Regions from separate parts of the Homo sapiens genome. Here all the other regions are linked to region 4. Evidence: promoter capture Hi-C in human tissues and cell types (Jung and others, 2019). All regions are on one chromosome and are shown on one strand. The core of a region is centred on a gene start or on the middle of the fragment in contact, and the rest is flanking DNA. Distances in the headings are between cores, read along the strand shown.

Region 1 (2,851 bases), core at 302-2,801, 410 kb after region 4:
AACCCGTGGAGTCCTGCAACCCCCAGCAGGCCTGCCCTATCAAGGGCTGTGAGCGCCACACCAAGGCACACAAGAGCGTCCGCCAAGCTGAGGAATAAACTCCTGCTTCTCTGTGGGGCTCTGTATTCCCATGTGGAGGAGGATGGGGCTGTAATCACCTAAAACTGACATAGGCCAGTTCAAAAGTGGCCCTAGAACCAGAGCAGGTCCCAGGTTCCTCCTGGGAACCGCCCCGGGCTCAGATGGGGGTGTCACCTACCTGTGCCGACAGCCAGCTTTGTGTCCCAGATGGACTCGGGCATCGAAGAGGCTTCTCACGGAAAACAGTTCCTTGACATTGAAGAAGTCAGAGTGCTTGAGGGGCTCATTCAAAATCTTGTCGTTGAAATCTACGGCAGGGAGGAGGAGCGACGCTGCGTCTCCCACCGGTGGCAGCAGAGACAGGCAGAGCGCAGTTCCCGCCCACCCCTGCTCCCAAGTGCCTTCTGTGACACCGAGGTGGGGAGCCGGGAGCCCAGCAGCCCCAGGAAAGACCTGGAAGCACAGGGACCTTTTCAGGAAACAGAGGGCTGGAGCCAGGTTCTGATCCCGACCTTGCTCCTGGGTAAGCCTGGTCGAACCTGGTCAACCCCGTCCCTTGGTCTTACTTGGAAGACAGAGGAGAAAAAGAGAGGGGCCCAGCGGGTTGCTCAGGTCTTTCTGGCACCTCCCCGCCTTGTGGTCTCAGGTGGCCAGCCAGAAAGTCCCCATCAGGAGTCCAGCAAGGTGGGCAGACTCCAAGCCCAGTGCCCCCAGGTCACTTGGGCCCGCCTGGGCGAGCTCGGGGCTCCGGGCCTCGGTGGTCCAGTGACACCCCCCTAGGGAGCGAAGCCTGTGCTAACCACTGGCCCGCCCGCTCCCTCTCACCCTATCCATGGTGAGGCGGTGGCCTCAGCCCGCTGTGCTACGTCAGGCAGGACCGAGCGGCGGCGAGCACGGGAGTGGGAGGAGCCCAGCGGAGCGCGCAGTTTCGACCGCGTGCAGCGCCCAGGCCCCTCTAGGGTTCGCATCCCCCGCGGCTGCCGGCCTCTCCTCGTTCCCACCCAACTCGGCTGGGCGCCCAGTGTTACCGGTGCTGTCCTCCGACTCGCGGATCATAAGGGCCGTCGCGCTTCCAAGCGTCCTGCGGCTCGGCCGAGCAGGCCGGGGGGTCGCCTTCCCGAGAAAGCCCAACCAGCGCGACGGGGCCCGGGCACCTGGGGGGAAGTAGATAGAGGTCCTGGCGCCGAGTCCCGAATGCACCACGCCCGCTCCCCACCGCATCCCCAACGGGCCCCTCCGCGTCCCTAACGGGTCCCCTCCGCGTCCCCGCGCCCTCCCCGAGTCCCCTCCGCGCTCGCCCCGGGTCCCCTCCACGTCCCCGCCGCTCCATCGGGTCCCCGCGCCCCTCCGCATCCTCCTCGCATGCTCCTCCCCAGGGTCCCGCAAGCGCGCGCTCACCCGCGCCGAGTATTCGGGGCAGCGCGGCCGAGGATGTCGCCATGGCTGGGACGCGGGGCAGAGCGAGGTCTCCCTCCAGGCCAGGCCGAGCGGCCTCCCCTTCCGTCGCCATCCGCGCGGGGCCGCAGTGCCGCCTACAGGCCCGGAGGAGCCACAGCGCTGTCCCCAGGCGGCTGGGACCTCCCTGCGGGGGCGGGGCACGCGAGGGGTCAGGGCCCGGGGTCCTGGGCTTGAGAGTCTCGGGCGGGGAGTGGAGCCACGGTCCTCGCCCTGCAGCTCGCCCCGCCCTGCTAATGGGACCGGCCAGCCCGGGAGGCCCCTGACCCTTGGGGAAGCCCGCTGGGCGATGGGGACCCTCGCCTCCCGCCAAGTGAGCTGTGAACCACGTCCTGCGCAACCTCTCGCTCTCCAAAACTGTTTGTAATATTTAAACGATATTTGGCTTAGGAGAATTTCATAAAGTTAGCCAGATCTCGGGTCTCAATTTAGACTCGGGGTGCTGGGGGGCATAGCATCCCTGGAGTACATTGGACAGCAAAAGTCCAATCGTTGCCTGCCGAGTGGACCTGCAGTGCTTAAACCCCGTCACCCGGCTGGCGGGGTCCCAGGCCCTGGGGTTTCTTTCGCCCGGGAGTCCACGCCCTGATGCTGGGGTGGCCCGGTCCCCCCGCGGGTGGCTGGGGGCCTGGGGCTGCCTCACACGACGGTCCCAGCAGGGAATCTCTCGCCGTCCCGACCTTCCCGGCCCTTGGGGAGTCGCCCGGCAGGTTCCGGACCCACCCGCAGAGGAACCCGGCCCACGCGCGGCGCCTTTAAGGCCCCTCCGCTCGCTCCCCAGTCACGTGACCTGGCCGTCGCTTGGCAACAGGACGCCGCCGAGTCCCGCTTCTCCTCCAGGCACAATGGCTGAGGAATGCCCCAGAGCGTGCGCGGAGCCTGTGGCGCCCAAGGCCACGGCCCCGCCGGAGAGGACCAGCGACTACTACCGCGTGAGCGCGGACCTGCCGGGCAGGTTCAACAACCCGGGGTGGTTCCGGGGCTACAGGTGAGGAAGCTGGGGCCCGCCTGGTCCTGGCGTCCACTGCTCGATAGCCCCGTGTGTGAGAGACCCCGCAAGACCCCCAAGGTCCTAGCTACAGAAATCAAGAAGATCGAGTGGTCATCCGGGGCCCGCGCTGTCATCGCCCGCCAGTGAGCGGCGACCGTGCTCCCTAGAGCCTCATACAAGGAAGTGGGGATAAGGGCAGTGGGGGGCAGGGCCGTGGGGGGAGAAAGCCCAGTTGTGGTCTCAGCTCCACTGATTTGTGTCGGGTGAGTCTCCTCTCCTCTCTACCCTGAAACTCCGCTGCGGGGCGTGAGCACAGCAGCACCT
Region 2 (2,700 bases), core at 22-2,521, 310 kb after region 4:
ATTTCAGGGTTTCAGGGTTACTTATAAGCACAGCATATGCTATTTAATGTTGAATGACACTCTTGATGTGCAAGGTCTCCTTCATGAATGGAATATTATATTTTTTGAAACATATTTTTAAAAATTAATTAAAGATTCTTATATGGCACTTCTCCCTTAGTCTTAAGTTAGTTAATTTTATTGATACATTTGAGATGGAGTCTCATTCTGTCACCTAGGCTGGAGTGAGGTGGCATGATCACGGCTCACTGCAATGTCCACCTCCCAGGTTCAAGTGATTCCCCTGCCTCAGCCTCCGGAGTAGCTGGGATTACAGGTACCTGCCACCACACCCAGCTAATTTTTGTATTTTTAGTAGAGACGGGGTTTTACCGTGTTGGTCAGGCTGGTCTTGAACTCCTGACCTCAGGCGATCTGCCTATCTTGGCCTCCCAAAGTGCTGGGATTACAGGTGTGAGCCACCACACCTGGCTTTTATTGATACATTTTCTAATATTGAAATGTTCTTTGTTTTTTGGGCTAAATCATGATGTATTAAATACGTTTGTTAGATTCAGTCTGCTAATAAGGTATTCAGATATTTGTGTCTTGATTCTGAAAGTTGACAGCTTTCCTTTTCCTGTATCTTCCTTCTCCAGTTTTGTTATCAGGGCAGCTGAGCAACTCACCGTCTTTTTCTATGCCCTGGAATGGATCGTATGAGCCAGGAACTATCAGATAAAGGTTTTTTATTCTCATCCACAGACAGAAGATCTGGAACTATTCTGGTTTTTTCTATGATGATTGTTCTTTCTAAGTTTCCTCTACTTTTTGAGCCAATATTGGTCATTGATATTTTATTGGAAATGTATCCATGCCATCTATATTTTGAAAATTTAAAGTTATGCATGTTACAATTATTGACAAATCTATTTCTGTTGTTGCATATTCTTTTTCCTTTTGTGATGTTCAAAATATTTTATAATGAAAAACAAATTCCTCTCCCATATCTCACCTCTTTTGTTCAGTTCCTCAATCCAGGGGAAATCTCTTTATTTCACATTAGCCCAGAAAAGATCAATGGCATTTATGAGCAGATGAAGGCTGATAGCAAAGCTCTTCCTGGTAGCAACTTCCCTTATGCTCCAGAGAGATGCCCTGGAGGTCATGGGGTTTGTGTTTTTTAAATAGTGCAGAATTTGATTTGTAAAACACTCATTTAAGTTTTTATATCAATATTTATTCAATGAATGGGTCTGTGATTTTTCATATTTTGTCCTTTGTGTGGCCTGGACCTCCAACATGAATGGCAAGCTCTGGCCATCTCAGCAGCACTCTTATCTAGTTCCTGAAAATTTTAAAGCCTCCTATAGTGTCTTGATCCCCAAATATGATAGGGCCTACAATACAGAAACCATGAACTCAGTTCCCTCAACCCCCCAGCCCCCGAGTCCCCCAGCCCCCAAGCCCCCCAGCCCCTGAGCCCCCCAGCCTCTGAGCCCCCCAGCCCAGTCCCCCAGCCCCTGAGTCATCCAGGCCCCAAGCCCCCAGCCCCCGAGTCCCCCAGCCCCCGAGTCCCCAGCCCCCGAGTCCCCAGCCCCCGTGCCCCCCAGCCTCTGAGACCCCAGCCCCTGAGTCCCCCAGTCCCCGATCCCCCCAGCCCCTGAGTCTGCCAGTCCCCGAGTTCCCCAGCCCCACAGCCTGCCCTCAGCTGCATCCCCACGCGCCTGCCAGCACAGACTCAGGGGACGGGGTTATTTATTGTTCAAAGAGGGACAGCTTAGGACAGGAGACCCCAGGCTGAGACCCAGGAGGTCCCAGCGTCCCAGGAAACGTGCCTTGGTCTTCAGCCTCCTTGTCCCTCCCAGGAAGGCGACATCCTCTCCGTCCGCACAGGGGCCGAGGCTCCAGGACCTGATGTGCACAAAAGGGCTCCCCTGTGACTCTAGGACCCTGCCCCTGCAGGTCCTAGAGTGAGGGACCCCTGCTTATGTGAGAGGAGCCCCCACCTCACCCCCAGCTTCAGGCCGGAGGGGCTTATGATCCCAGGCCCACCCCTGAGCCCCCCACCCTCACTCACCCCCACCCTGGAGGAGAAGGCCTCATCCTGTGCCCAGGACACAGGAAATGGCATCTGGAGCAGCCAACCCCAGAGACGCGGGCACATGGCCAGCTGGGCTTTTCCAGATGCCCCAGGATTCCAGCCCATCGCTCAGGGTCAGCCCTGGGGAATGGACACAGTGGGGTCTCTTCCAGGAGCCCAGAAAGGCGACCTCAGGCTATGGGCGGGGCTGGTACATTACCCAGGAGGCAGGACTGAGCAGGAGCTCATCTAGACGCGGCACTGTTCTGTGGGAGGAGAGGGGGCAGTGGGGGCGTCAGTGGGAGGGGAGACTTAGCTGGGGACACAGCAGTCCCAGGGCCAGAGGTTGGGGGATGATGGGAGGGGGACGGGACCCCACCTCAGGGTGCCTTTGCATCCCCAGGGGAGCCCTGGGGAGAACATGGGAGGGGCCAACGAGGAGTGACGGGTGCTGCCCTGAGTCCTACAGGGCCAGCGGGGGGCTTGGGCTGGGACAGTGGTGGCTTCTCCTCCAGCCGAGGCTGGGCCTGTCTTGGGTGGAGCTCACCTTCCGCCTGGGTAACGTCCAGGAAGATCCACATGTGCACGGGCAGGGTCCTGAGAAAGCTGATGAATTCCTCCATGACCTTGTCGTCTGC
Region 3 (2,896 bases), core at 337-2,836, 320 kb before region 4:
TGGAAACCACTTCACATGTGTCTGTGCACGCATCCTTGCCTTGAAAGACCCTGCTCAGATGCTGCCAGTACTCGCTGGAGTGAGAACACGGGAATGTTTTTGCCAAACAGCCTGGACCGTATCTGATTAATCTGCACGTACTTGCTTGCTGTCCTGACTTAAGTGCCGGCCGCTGACAGCCGCGTCTGTTACCAGCGCTTTCATCCATCAGGGTGTCATTTAATTAGGGGCCCACAGCCTTGTCCCTGCTCCGTGATGTGCAGGTTCAGCACAAATCCGCTTGTTCTGTGACTATCTGTGGTAGGAGAGGCATCGTGCTGTTGGTGGAGTTCTCTCTCCTAGCTCCACATAGACGCTCTGTGTGATGAGGGCCTAACTGATGACCTAGAGGGGGCAGGTGGGCTGGTCTCGCAGGTGGCCGCAGCCTGGAGTGGGGACTGCTGGGTCCTGGGCTTCCCGGGAGTCCAGTGCTCACCACACTGAAGGTCATGCTCCTGCTTTTCAGACTGGGCCAGTGCCATTCGCGTCGCAGCTCTGGACTGCATGGAAGAGAAGAACCAGGCCGTGTGCCATGACTACGACATCCACTTCTACCCCACCTTCCGGGTGAGTATCACGCGGCTGCTTGTCCGTTGAAATTCACCTTCTACCCCACCTTCCAGGTGAGCATCACGCGGCTGCTTGTCTGTTGAAATTCGCCACATCATAGTGCCTGTGTTTTCGGCTTCTCTGGCTCTCTCCTTGGAACTTCGTAGGAATTGTAGGAGCTGATGTTTGGTGGGGGCAGCTCTTGTTCCACCCTGTTGTGCTGTGGAAGTGTCTGTGGGACTGTCCACGCTCACACAGACCCGGTCACATGGAGGGGATGCGTGAAAAGACCCCCTGCAGCCTGCACGGCCAGGGGGCGCAAGGAGACCAGGACTGCGAGGGCTGGCACCCCAGCCTGAAGCCACGCGTGTGGTCCGTGTACCATGGGGCTCTCACACATGCACACTCATGCACACACACACGCACACACAGGCACAGGGCCTCTGCCTTCCCCAGCCAAAGTCAGCCCTGCAGACAAGGCTGTGCCCATTGCTCCCACTAGGGGGCGGAGGTACCTGTGACCCTGTTGCAGGCCCGTGCATAGCATGTGTGTACCTGCGGGTGCCACTGCCTCCTGCGTGCCTTGACATGGACATCTCCAGAAACGTGGGCGCCTTGGGCCCACTTCCTGGGAAGCTTTGTCAATTTGAGTAAAACTCCGTCCTTGTCAGCCCTGGTGCCTTGCTGTGTGGTGTGGTGTCATGTCATGGTGGCTTCGCTTGTATTTTGGGGGCTGTTGTTTTCACTGTGCTGGCAGCACCTGTGGTCCTGCCCTAACAGGTGCCACGCTGGGCGGCACCGGTGTCAGCCCTGCCCCAGGGCCTCTCGGGGCCTGTGTCGCACACTTGCTTGCCTGCCTCTGCGTGTGATTACGTCAGCATGGCTTCCTGTTGTATTTTGATTTTGCTTCAGACACAGTTCACACTGTGCTGTATGTAAACTTTCGGGCCCTCTTTCTGTTACTTAATGGGACATTGCCCAGATCCACTACGATGCTCATTGGATGGGATTGTCCAGTGACGTCACTCTGAGAACCAGAGCCCCCCGTTGCCAGGTGTGTGGGCTCTTCCAGGCTTTGGTGGCTTTGAACGGCGCTGCTGTGCGCCTTCCCGGGCAAGGGGAGAGCTGAGGCTGGGAGAGAAGCCACTGGGCCGCGAACCGGGTCTGTGCACAACAGACCTGCAGGGCCAGCAGTGTCAGGCAGTTTTGTGCTCGCCCAGGGACCAGTGCAGCAGGAAGCACTGGCGGCTTCGTTTGCATTTCCCTGGCGGCTGCAGTGCCAGCACATCTGGCTTTGTGGGCCGTGGGTGTCATGGGTGAAGTGTCTTCCTGTCATCTGCACGTTTCCCTCTTAGCTGGCCAGTGCTTTTCTTACCGACCTCATCTCCGCCATCATGTAACCTTGTCTCGTCGCTGTCTCTAACGTACCCTTTGATGAAGAAAGTTTTTAATGTTAACATAAGAACCTAATCATCCACTCAGAGATACTGCGTGGTGTCTCCTCCTCCTGCACATCCTCCGTGTTGTCACAGCTAACGCTACAGCTAACCATTAAGACATAGGCTCACTACCAAGTCCCAGAGAGCGGTGTCTTTTATGATTCCAGCCCAGTTGAACTGTCTTGCTTCTAGCCCTGTTGGGTCAGAAAATGTAAATGATGGGAATGCTGATTGGAGCTAACCTTAGCCCCCTCGTAAATCTGACAGGAAACATTAATATGCACAAAGACAAGGAGAAGCGTGTGGTTTGTCATTAATTTATGAAAACTTTCCGAAGGAAATTGAGTAAAGCTCCCTCTAAGGTGACGGGCGTTTTGTTGCTTAAACACATGCAGATGCCCATGGAAGGCTGCCTCTTACTTGTTCTGTGTTTTTCCTCTTAGTATTTTAAAGCATTTACAAAGGAGTTTACAACTGGAGAAAATTTTAAAGGTAAGGACATAAGCATTGTATTTTAGTCCCTGAGATTCCCCTCATAAACCTGCTAAAGACACACGGTCCCAGAGCCTGGGGAGCTCCCAGCCTGGGTCAGCACCTTTCCCTCTGCTGACCTTCCTGCCTGCTTTCCCTTAAGAGTTCAGATATTAATAGTTTCAAAGAGAAATTTTAATTTTGTGCTTTGCCTTGCTTGGCAAATATTGTAGTAAAAACTTTTTCAGAGTAAATTTTTTATTGTAAAAATATTTGGAGATGTGCACAGATCACATGTACCCACCCGATGAATTTTTACAAATGATCCCACCCAGCCGAGCATCGCCCAGAGTGTGATCAGACCCCGCAGGCCACACCCTGGGGGGCTCTGCCTGTGA
Region 4 (2,861 bases), core at 109-2,608:
TGCGTTCTCGACTTAGTGGCCTCTACTGTGTTTCTTACACTCCAGGCTCTCGTGTCTCAGAGGCTCTGTCTGCCGTGCTCCTTGCTCAAGACAGTACTTCTGCAGATATCCTTACCCTCGACGCCCACGTCCCGCCGGTCTTTGCTCAAATAAGTGCCCTCCTCCTATGGCTTTCCTTGACCGCTCTGCCCTGTCCACCTCGTGTTCTTTTCAGACGGCTGACTCAAGAAAAAATAGACAATCTCAACAGACCTATAACAAGTGAAGAGACTCAATTAGTAACCAAAAAACTATGAATCAAATAAGTCATCAAAAAAGCCCAGGCCCAAATGGCTTCAAGGTTGAATTGAAGCCTGCACGTGGGTTGGTATGTGAATGACGGACTGCCTGGGTCCTCTGGGCACCTGGCATTTCATACATGTTCCGCCTCTGGCACGGGGTGTCTCGACCAGGTACAGACAGGCTGGGAGCCCCGCGCCGGGCGCCCGCTCCCTGGAAGCTCGACCTCTCCCTGCCGTCAAGGCGCCGGTGGGCGGCACGTGGGCCGGCTCTCCCGGGGGCAGTTCTCTATTTCGCTGGTGAGGTTCTCAGACCAAATCCTCGGAATGCAAACTCTCACGGCGTTCCCGTAATTCTCAGCCCAGCGCGGGCCCCGACGCAGGCTCCAGGGGAACGAAGTCAGCGTCCCTTCCGGGGGATGCGCCGGCGGGGCCGCACCTGTTTCTGCCTCAGGGGTCCAAACGCCCACCTTCCCTGCACCGGGACGGGGGTCTGGAGACTGGCACGTCCACCTGGTGCCCGTCTGCTGGGCTGTCGCCTGCCGAGGTCGCCGCCGGCCACACCCACGAGGTCCCCAGGGCGCCGGCGGCGAGACCTCGGCCGGCCAGGGGGCCGGGCTGTGGCTGAGGTGGGACGAGCCAGGGCCGGGGAGGAGACACGGCGCTAAAAGAGGGCAGCTGCGGGCTCGGCAGGATCCCCGCCGCCGACCCACTCCACCCACCCCGCGCCGCCCACTCCCCGCTGCCTACGCCGCGCTCCACACCGCGGGCCTTAGAGCCTGAGGAAAGCAACGGGGCAGGCGCGGACCAGGGCGGGTCCTACTGCGCCTGCGGAAGCGGGCGGGGAGGGGCGGGTCGACGCTCACTGCGCCTGCGGAAAGGGGCGGGGCAGGCACAGGCCTGCGGGTGCCACCTACTGCGCCTGCGGAAAGGGGCGGGGCGGGCGCGGGCTGGCGGGCGGTGCCTACTGCGCCTGCGGAAAGGGGCGGGGCAGGCGCGAGAAGGGAGCGGAGCTGGGGGCGGGGTCGAGGGCGGGGTGGCGGGCGGTGCCTACTGCGCCTGTGCGAGGCCCCGGCGGTGAGCGCGCTCCCGCTCCTTGGCCACCGCCTCAGCCGCTGTCGCCGCCGCCGCCGCTCACCCGGGACCGCGCACGCGCTGCCACCGCCCCCGGCCCGCTCCCGCCCCCGCGCCCGCCCCCGCCCCCGGCCCGCGCCCTCCTGCCGCCGCCTCTTTGGGCCGCGGGCTCGGCACCTCCTCCGCTCGGGCTCAGCGCCCGCAGCATGCAGCAGCCGCGGGGGCGGCGACGGCGGCGGCTGTGAGGTGAGGCGGGGGCCGCGCTCGGGCGCCCCTCCCGGCTGGCCGGCTGCGGGGCCGAGTGGTGGCTCGGGGCGCACCGGGCCCGGCGCGGCGAGGGGCGGCGGCGCCTTTGTTGCGGCCGGGCCGCCGCCTCAGCCCTTTGTCTGCAGATGGTGGACGCGAGCGGCCGCGCCGCCGCCGAGGGCTGGAGGAAGATGGAGGCCCCGCCGGACGGCGCCGCCGACCTCGTGCCCCTGGACCGCTACGACGCGGCGCGCGCCAAGATCGCCGCCAACCTGCAGTGGATCTGCGCCAAGGCCTACGGCCGAGGTGGGCCGGGTGAGGGGCGCGGGGCGGGGGCCAGGGGCGCGGGCCGGGGCCGGGGGACGCGGCCGGGGTCCGGCCGGGTCGGGGTCCGCGCGCCGCGCCTTTGTGCCGCGTCCGCACAGGGTCGGGGCTGGGCCGGCCGCCTCCGAGGTCCTGGCGGCGCCCGGGCAACGCGGAGCGTGGGGACGCGGTCACCTGGCGAGTGGGCGTCCCTGCGGCGGAGGGCGGCGTGGGTCGGGGCTTCCGCTCCTATTTCGGGAGTGCCCCCAGCCTCCCGTTGGCGGCGGCGGCGGCGGGAAGGAGCTGCCCGGTTCTGGGCGCAGGGAGGGACCATGGGGACGCGGGGCCGCCGTCTGAGGCGCCGCTTCCCGGCGCGCCGGGCATCGTCCAGTGCTGGACCTGTGATTCCGAGCCTTGCACTTGTTATGAATTTTGATGCTTACAAGCTGTCAGCTGTTGAATTCCCCAACTAGAAATTGCGTATTCCGCGCATTGTGCTTAATCATAATGATCCCCTTTGGTTAATTCCTGTTTGGAAGAACTAGGTAACCTTGTTACTCAGTCCAGTTTGTTAGGCCCTAATGTGCTTAGTGGATTAAGACGCTTCTGTTTCGTGCCCTGGGAACAGGACAGACCTAGTGATTCTCGTCAGTGGCTGACTTCTTTATTAATTTCAGGTGCTTTGTTTCAGGTACAATTAAAGGTTAATATTTCTGCAATCCTCTTTTCATTTGAAGCATTCTTAAAATATTTGCCTTTATTCTGGTGAAAAATTACCCTTTTTAGAGTAAGACTAAAGGAGACAGCCCTTCCAGAGAAGAGTTCAGTTGACCAGTTTGGAAAACGCTGAGTAGGCGTTGCCCTGTTTGACAGTGGCCTGTGCCCCAGCTAGACTCGAGTTAGTCATAAGGACAAACGCGTTTTGTAAGTTTTAGGGATTAAATAACTCGCCTTATTTCA

Evidence for each region. Contacts are between HindIII fragments. The study calls those that stand out against the background at their distance.
Region 1: a contact is called between the fragment with the promoter of MRPS2 here and the fragment with the promoter of CAMSAP1 in region 4, in 1 of the 25 tissues and cell types used here (dorsolateral prefrontal cortex).
Region 2: a contact is called between a fragment that was not itself captured here and the fragment with the promoter of CAMSAP1 in region 4, in 1 of the 25 tissues and cell types used here (dorsolateral prefrontal cortex).
Region 3: a fragment that was not itself captured here is called in contact with the fragment with the promoter of CAMSAP1 in region 4 in 2 of the 25 tissues and cell types used here (liver and lymphoblastoid cells).

What each region holds. Positions count from the first base shown.
Region 1 is chr9:135,499,382-135,502,232 of GRCh38, reverse strand. MRPS2 (mitochondrial ribosomal protein S2) reads right to left here and starts at 1,551. Exons shown (of 4, transcript NM_016034.5): 1 at 1,480-1,551; 2 at 1,110-1,235; 3 at 260-389. The coding sequence starts at 1,522. PIERCE1 (piercer of microtubule wall 1) reads left to right here and starts at 2,364. Exons shown (of 3, transcript NM_001048265.2): 1 at 2,364-2,524. The coding sequence starts at 2,382. RefSeq lists an enhancer at 702-1,326 and silencers at 1,282-1,441, 1,652-1,821, 2,092-2,261. The HindIII fragment of the contact is 18,925 bases long and covers 1-2,851 here.
Region 2 is chr9:135,591,885-135,594,584 of GRCh38, reverse strand. It overlaps the pseudogene PAEPP1. Among named protein-coding and RNA genes, the nearest start is that of LINC01502, 18 kb to the right of the region's middle. The HindIII fragment of the contact is 7,979 bases long and covers 1-2,700 here.
Region 3 is chr9:136,224,484-136,227,379 of GRCh38, reverse strand. It overlaps QSOX2 (quiescin sulfhydryl oxidase 2), which reads left to right. Exons shown (of 12, transcript NM_181701.4): 2 at 506-606; 3 at 2,471-2,519. Among named protein-coding and RNA genes, the nearest start is that of QSOX2, 20 kb to the left of the region's middle. RefSeq lists enhancers at 1,336-1,555, 1,686-1,765, 1,946-1,995. The HindIII fragment of the contact is 5,657 bases long and covers 1-2,896 here.
Region 4 is chr9:135,906,043-135,908,903 of GRCh38, reverse strand. It overlaps CAMSAP1 (calmodulin regulated spectrin associated protein 1), which reads left to right and starts at 1,358. Exons shown (of 17, transcript NM_015447.4): 1 at 1,358-1,904. The coding sequence starts at 1,745. It overlaps CAMSAP1-DT (CAMSAP1 divergent transcript), which reads right to left and starts at 1,071. Exons shown (of 2, transcript XR_007061860.1): 1 at 1-1,071. RefSeq lists silencers at 790-1,469, 1,510-1,619, 1,700-1,769, 2,170-2,219. The HindIII fragment of the contact is 39,877 bases long and covers 1-2,861 here.